Linked DNA regions of Homo sapiens: region 1 is linked to region 2. Evidence: promoter capture Hi-C in human tissues and cell types (Jung and others, 2019). All regions are on one chromosome and are shown on one strand. Each heading gives the region's core, a stretch centred on a gene start or on the middle of the fragment in contact. The rest is flanking DNA. Distances are from core to core; before and after follow the strand shown.

Evidence for each region. Contacts are between HindIII fragments. The study calls those that stand out against the background at their distance.
Region 1: a contact is called between a fragment that was not itself captured here and the fragment with the promoter of TMX3 in region 2, in 1 of the 25 tissues and cell types used here (H1 embryonic stem cells).

What each region holds. Positions count from the first base shown.
Region 1 is chr18:67,322,969-67,326,953 of GRCh38, reverse strand. No RefSeq gene overlaps it. Among named protein-coding and RNA genes, the nearest start is that of DSEL-AS1, 190 kb to the left of the region's middle. The HindIII fragment of the contact is 7,158 bases long and covers 1-3,985 here.
Region 2 is chr18:68,713,180-68,717,039 of GRCh38, reverse strand. TMX3 (thioredoxin related transmembrane protein 3) reads left to right here and starts at 1,932. Exons shown (of 16, transcript NM_019022.5): 1 at 1,932-2,104; 2 at 3,140-3,194. The coding sequence starts at 2,059. It also overlaps a transcript of CCDC102B not described here. RefSeq lists an enhancer at 1,605-1,674 and silencers at 1,875-2,004, 2,185-2,284. The HindIII fragment of the contact is 1,612 bases long and covers 1,123-2,734 here.

The DNA.
Region 1 (3,985 bases), core at 736-3,235, 1.4 Mb after region 2:
GAATAACATTAGAACAAGTGTGATTCTTATATGTTACCAAGTCTTTGTAACTGATTCTCAGGTTTACTCTGTCATTGTTCAGTTGACAAGTTGTTACTTATTCCATTCCAAACACTGTGTTTGAAATTTAAGTGAACTATTTTCAGGTTGAACCATTGAGCTAGATTTCCCAAAGTTTAGTAGAAAGACATTTGCTTATCTTCGCTAAATTATGATTGTAAAAATAAATATGGAATTTTTATGGATGAAGTTTTTAAAAATGCTAAATAAAAATGCTGTGATAAAACATACTATTAGGAGTTAAATTCAGAGAAACAAAAACGGTTTCTATGTGTCACACAGATTTAATTAGTTGGTATGGCTGTTTAGTATAAACTTCCTTTTACCCAGTATTATGTTTGAGAGACCATAGCGTTTGGAGACATATTTAAGGAAAAGCAAATAACTACTACCTCCCATGGTAACCCAGTGGAGAGTAACTACCTATCTATTCTGGACTATTTATCTACTTGACTGCAATGACATGAGACAGAAATATACTTCTACTTTTATTGTGCATCTCCATTTTTGCATCTCTTTGTGAGAGCAGCTTAACTGTGTTCAATCCTAAACATAACTGGGAAATAAAACATGACTGTTTACAACATATCTCATTCTCTTTTTGCTCAGTGAAAAATTACACACACACACACACACACACACACACTTTTGAAAAGTAAATATAACTTCTCTTCACTCCATCAACAAGAGGTGTTTTATTACTATAATTCAACAAAAGAGAGTCTATTCCTTGGCATGCTAGCATTCTTCGAAGGTAGTGTTCTTTATTAAAGAAAACTTTAATAGATAGAGTAAAGAAAGAATTAGGACAAATCATTAATAACATCATCTTGCTTTTGTTTAATGTTTTCTTTTCAGAATCAGTATTAGTTGCTTTCTTAATAATTCCAAATGTATATTAGGCATTAAATATTTATTGTTTAATTTATTTCTATTGTTTACCTACCATCTCTCACTGAAATAGGAGTAGATACAGTTAACAGGTTTTAGTGATTGCTATATTTTAAAGTAGCAATTTTTCCAATGGAGTTGGAAAAATATAGTGTATACTGGATGACATTTGTAAATATATTTAAATAGACTTCTTTTTATAAAAGCATATGATATGGTTTTCCATGAAATTTGTCATACAGGCAAAATAAATTTCTGGCTCAAGAAATGGGGATTTGGCCGGGTGCGGTGGCTCACGCCTGTAATCCCAGCACTTTGGGAGGCCGAGGCGGGCGGATCACGAGGTCAGGAGATCGAGACCATCCCGGCTATAACGGTGAAACCCCGTCTCTACTAAAAATACAAAAAAAAATTAGCCGGGCGTAGTGGCGGGTGCCTGTAGTCCCAGCTACTTGGGAGGCTGAGGCAGGAGAATGGCGTGAACCCGGGAGGCGGAGCTTGCAGTGAGCCGAGATCCCGCCACTGCACTCCAGCCTGGGCGACAGAGCGAGACTCCGACTCAAAAAAAAAAAAAAAAAAAAAAAAGAAAGAAATGGGGATTTAAAGTACTTAAAATAGAAAGATTATTACGAATAAAATAATTGAACACATTTTAAATTAGTGAAAAATATGGAATAAAGTTAAAAAAGTAAAATGACAAAAGAAGTAATGACGGCAATATATTTAATTCAAAAAGTATGTGCTATATTTCAGGTTGAGCCAATATGCATATCTGTCTGATTTGCAGACATGTGCATTGAAAATGTTCATCTTTGAATGATGAGAAAATAATGGTAAAGCTATAAAGTCTAGAGACTTGATGATTGTCTTGATTACAGAAAACATAATAATTAGATAAAATTATAAGTTAAGGTTTAAAAAATAAATATAGATGAAAAGAACAACTACTTTGTATTGTGATAGGCCTTAGCTGACTAATTAAGATATAAGGAAACACCAATTATTATTATTTTAATCAGTGAAGGTTAAAATAGACCTGAAATGGTAAAGACATTTTGTTCAATACAAGCAAAATAATATAATGGTATAAAATTCAACAGTTTATTAGAATGTTAAGAAATTCCAATCTTAAATAGGCTGAAATTGAAGTATGACTCAAATATTTAGGAAAAAATTCAACATTTACTGAAAATTACAATGGCATTCAAAATATCCACATTTGATCATGATAGAAAAATTATACAAATCTATACTTGATTAAACATTTACTAATGAAGCAAATTTTCATGATTTCTTGTATATATTTCTTATATTATCAGGCTTTTAATCTACATATGATCCACTTTGGTCCCCATAATCGAGTGGAATTTTGAGAATATATAAAAACATTTGGAATGTTAACATTACTTTTTAAAATCTGATTCCTGTAGGCTGTACTCTAGTTAGCCAGATCATTTTTTAATAATTCTAAATTAATGCAAATGCAATAATCATCTGAAATATTCCATCTTGCTACTAATAGCCTACTAAACATATTTATGTACCAAAAACTCATTAATTTATAACAAGTATTATGTACTATAAAACTAAATCACTATAAAACAATGTTAGTGTGACTATTAATATTTAGAAGTAAACAAAATGAACACAGTTAAACATTTATATGTTCTATAGTACTAATTAATTGTACTAAAATACATTAAGGGAGAACTTAAAAGTAGATTTATCACTGTGTGAGCTCAAAGAACTCTTCACAGCTATTGTTAGCCTATTTTACTTTTCATTGCCAAACATGATGTAGTGCTATCATCCCAACTGGCATTAGAAATGGGGTTAGAGGGATTACCAGTATACACCAGTATACAATATTACCAGTATACAATTTGCATAGCTAACAGAAATCTCATTTCTGTTTAAAGTTTAATTGGATTTGTCAGTGCTCTTCACTCAAAGACTGCCAGGAACCACCTATAGGTGAAGAAGTGAGGTTGATAACTCATTGCAGTGAAGGAGAACACATCACAATAACAGACTGTTAGAAAGGGTTAATTATAGAATTTGGGCTTGTGCTAGATAATTCTGGGGAGAGTTCAAGGAACCAGGGCTTTGCTCAATATTGGATGCCATCAGAATATGGAGGCATTCTGTGTTTGCATATCTTAATAAATCTTGTCTATAAGGTGGTTGTAGTAACGATTAGCTAAAGCTGTAATTAAAATAATTCTATGCTGTCACTTTCAAATATGTATTATTTGATTGTAATATTTTAAAATTTACAACATTTAACATTTAATTTTTCCTCTCAAGAAAACTTGCAACTTACCATGAAATGGACAAAGCTTAAAAAAAAATACAAACTACCAAAACTTACTCAAGAAGAAATAGAAAGCTTTAATATACCTATATTAATTAAATAAAATTAGTTCGTAATTTCAAATATTCCCAAAGAAACATCACCACCCACGTCACTTCACTGGGAAACTCTATCATATTATTTAATAAATAAATAAGGCCAGGTATGGTGGCTCACACCTGTAATCCTAGCAATTTGGGAGGTGAAGGCAGGAGGATTGCTTGAGGCCAGGTGTTTGAGACCAACCTGGATGACAGAGAGAGAGCCTGTCTCTACAAAAAAAAAGTTAAAAATAAAATAGCCATGCATAGTGATGAGTGCCTGTTGTCCCAGCTACTTGGCTGCTAAGGCAGGAAGATCGCTTGAGTCCAGGAGTTCCAGGCTGCAGTGAACTCCAGCCTTGGTGACAAAGCCAGACTCTGTCTCTAAAATAAATAAATGAATAAAATTTTTCCAGAAAAAATAATAAATAATGTTTTGGAATTTAAAAGATAACTGAATGTATAATACACAAACTTCCAGAAACTAAATATTATAATGCCAGCATTGTTCTGACAATAAAATGGAAAAATACATCATAAGGATGAAAAATATACCTCATCAATACAGATACAAAAATCCTTAGCAAAGTTTTAGCATCCAAATCCAACAATATATAAAAAGGATTATACACTATGGCCA
Region 2 (3,860 bases), core at 683-3,182:
AGTGGCGCGATTTCAACTCACTGCAAGCTCGGCCTCTTGGGTTCATGCATTCTCCTGCCTCAGCCTCCCAAGTAGCTGGGACCACAGGTGTCTGCCACCACGCCCAGCTAATTCTCTGTATTCTTAGTAGAGACGGGGTTTCACTGTGTTAGCCAGGATGGTCTCGATCTCTTGACCTCGTGATCCACCTGCCTCGGCCTCCCAAAGTGCTGGGATTACAGGTGTAAGCCACCGCGCCAGGCCACATCTGGCTAATTTTTTAATTTTTTGTACAGATGGGGTCTCACTGTGTTGACCAGGCTGGTCTCAGACGCCTCACCTCAAGCAATCCTCCTGCCTCAGCCTCCCAAAGTGCTGGGATAATAGGCATGAGCCACCCATGCCTGGGACTTGATCAGTATTTAGATTTCATAAAATTTACAGTTGAAAAAGTAGATTCACATACCTCAGTTGTTCCAACCACATTAAAAAAACTTTCCAATAGCTGAATCGAGTGTCAGTTTTTGAGTTTACTGAAATTAAAAAAAATAAATATTCAGTTATTTCATCACACTAGGCACATTTCAAAAGCTCAATAGCCACATGTGGTTAGTGGCTACACTACTGAAAAGCACAGATCTAGGTCAACTGGCTTTTGTTGTTGTCCACATGTGAACTTAAACTGTAACGCAAATATAAGAGGAAATTATTTCACTTTGCATGCTGTGGAAGACAGAAAACTTTGAAATACATGAGAATGAAAAAAAAAAATTGAATATGGGTCATTCAGAGACCTTGCCAAGAAAGTAGAAAAGCTTCTGTATAAGAGTATCGAGGCGATGGTACTATTATAAAGCTGTTCCACCACCACCGGGAGAACATTCCCATCATTTCAACAGTCCCCTTACGTTTTAGTCTACTTTTTTCTTAAAAAAAAAAGAAAAAAAGGAAAAGAGAAAGAAAAAGAAAAATTGAATCTGTAGAGGGCTTGCGCTGGATACCATGCTGCATGCACAAAGGGGGTGACATTTAGGGCTTGCTCTCAATTAGAGTGCAATTTAATCTTCTAGTCACTAGGAATAACGACGTTTTATGACATTTTTGCCTGTTGGAATTTTGAACCTAAGGTGAACCGGCTGACATCATATCCCCCTTCTGTTGTTGTCACAGGTTTTCAAAATTTGGTTTGATCTAAATTCTCTGGTACCTTATGTCCCATAAAAATTTCATCTAGTTCGTAAGTAGTGATTGCTGCAGTAACCGTCTTATAAAAGTATATGGTTTTTACAAATCATTGTCGTATAGAAGAAAAAACAGGTAGCAATATAAATATTTCATACTACTTTATCTAGTTCCAAAATAATCAGAAAAGAGCCATCAAAAAATATCCTACGCTTAACTTCATGTTCTCAAGTTTCAAGAGAAAGTTTTTAAAGAGGCAATCCTTACTTTGGCAAAAATGCATTAAAGCTTGCTGCATTTAAGAGATGTCCCATTATGCAAACAGGTTGAAAGAATATTACAAATACGTTTTGGAAAAATACGGAGTGTCGCGCAGCTCAGCAATCCGCAGTCTTAATGCGCGCCTCTTTCCAGGAATTTGATCCAGCATCAAAACCCACAGGTGCACTCACCACACGGGAGTAACAAGTAAATGATGTGCCAGTATTCAACCTGCAAGTGCGTCGTCAGAGCCTACCTCACCCTCAGCATAACTTTCACCGGTATTCACCTTCCCGGAAACGCGCCCCAGTGAACCAGCACCGTTTTCCCTAGTAAAGCCCTTAAGCAGGGTTCCCACGCTCCTGGGCGTGGAGGGGGGCACCGAGAGCGCAAAGGATTCTTAAGACATGACTGCGCAGGCGCTGTCGCATGCGCCGCACTCCCCTCGCATGCGCCGCACTCCCGCGCATAGCCGGAGACGGAGACTGGCCGGGTAGCCCCGCCCCCGTAGTTAGCGCGGTGCTTCTCTTCCGCTCCGGGTCGGCTCCGTTTCCCTTTCCGGGCGGGCAGGCGGCGGACCCCAGTGTCTTTATCCCTCTTTTGCACAGTCAGCTTCTGCAGCTCTCCCGGGCTAGCATGGCAGCGTGGAAGAGTTGGACGGCCCTGCGGCTCTGCGCCACAGGTAATGGGGGCTCAGCGGTCGGGACGCTGGCGGGCGCGTGGGACCTGGCCCCGCCGTGGGGCCGGGATTGGACCCGGGTCTGGGGCGAGGCCTGCGGGGTTCGTGGAGATGCCCACCCATTCCCGGCAGCGTCCTGCCGCCCCCGCCGCGCCACCCTGCCTGGCCCTGACGGAGCGGACACCTTGGGGTCCTTCCGCCGCCGCTGTGCCGGACCAATGCTGGACGTGGGAAGGGCGCGCTGCCTTGTGTTTGTGTTTTTCTCATTGTGGCAGAAGTTTCAATAAAGCTTACTCCTTTGATGGGCAAGAAGGATGCCGCCGTCCCAGCTTAACGACCAAATCTTGCCTTGGCTTTAGGTTCCGAGTCTTGTCACGTTTAAGGATTTTTACCACCAGTACTCAAGAGAGGGTGGTCGAGGACAGATCAGGGTCAGGCCGCCGGGATTGTGCGGTGTGAAAAGGACCTGAGTGTGTGTCAGCGGTTCTCAGCTGCCTCCCGTCAGCATGGAGTGCCCTCATTCTCACTGGGGTCCGCTCACTTAACAACCTTTTAGAGCCCACTCTGTGTCAGGCACTGCCGTGTAATAAGTATTAGAGTTGCAGCTCGACTTTCTTCCTACGTATCTATTTGAGGGGAAATATTTTGAATGGCATTTGGAGTTTTTACGGAAGAGGTAATTGCTACTAAAGCAAAAGAAATAAAGAAGAATGCTGTCTATTTGTATTCCAAAAAGATAGGATGGTTAAAAAGAGACGTAAGATGAGAGTGAAAATATGGAGGAAAAAGGAACTGTGTGTATTAGATTTATTGGCTTACCTAGAACTTGGCCGGTCACGATATGGTTGCATACAGACTAAATATTTATTAAATGGATGAACTACCTTTGCTTTTGCATCATTTGCACCCTGGGATGCATCAGTGATGAATTTTTTGGTAGGTTGTGAAAGGTCAAAAACACTTCAGAGATGACTAAGCTTATACGGTATGAGCCAAATAATCAGCATTTATTGTGTACATTTTGTCTTTTTTTTTCAGTTGTTGTACTTGATATGGTCGTCTGTAAAGGATTTGTAGAAGATTTAGATGAATCGTGAGTATACATATATATATTTAAAATATTATTTTAACTGTCCAACTCAGATATCTGAATATTTGCATGTGATTCTAATATTTTAGATTGGAACCAATTTTTATATATCACTCATTTTTTTCACTTGTTGTAAGTGAAGGTGAGGGTGTGCCCAGAAGAGTTTTATTAATAGTTATGAGATCAAAAAACTGTGGCAAACTTTTACATATTCTTTTTTTCCTCATTATCTTACCTTGTATTTATGTCTTTTTCCTTTAATTATATTGAATGGGTGTTAGAATTTGGTAACTGTACTGTATTTATCTTCATAGTATGACAGCATTAATCAGCCTTGCTTATAGTAAGTGAGGAGGTTCACTTCAGACCCAAATTCCTGTGTGTGATCTTTCAGGCTTGACCATAGACAATTGCAAGGCTTTTTCTGGCATAGGGGAAGGTGCCCTCCCTACACCAAACTTGGTGTATAACCGGTGCATTACAGTCCCTGGAGGGAGTGGTAGTCAAGGATTCGGCCTCCCAGGCCAGCCACGCTCATTTGCATGTCTACACTCCCAACCCAGTGGTCTCTGTTTAGCAGCCTCCTTATTGGGACCTCACCTGAGGCATTTCCTGAGCACTTCTGCTAAAACATCTTTATTGAGGGTGTCAGCGGAGGCACTTTTCTAC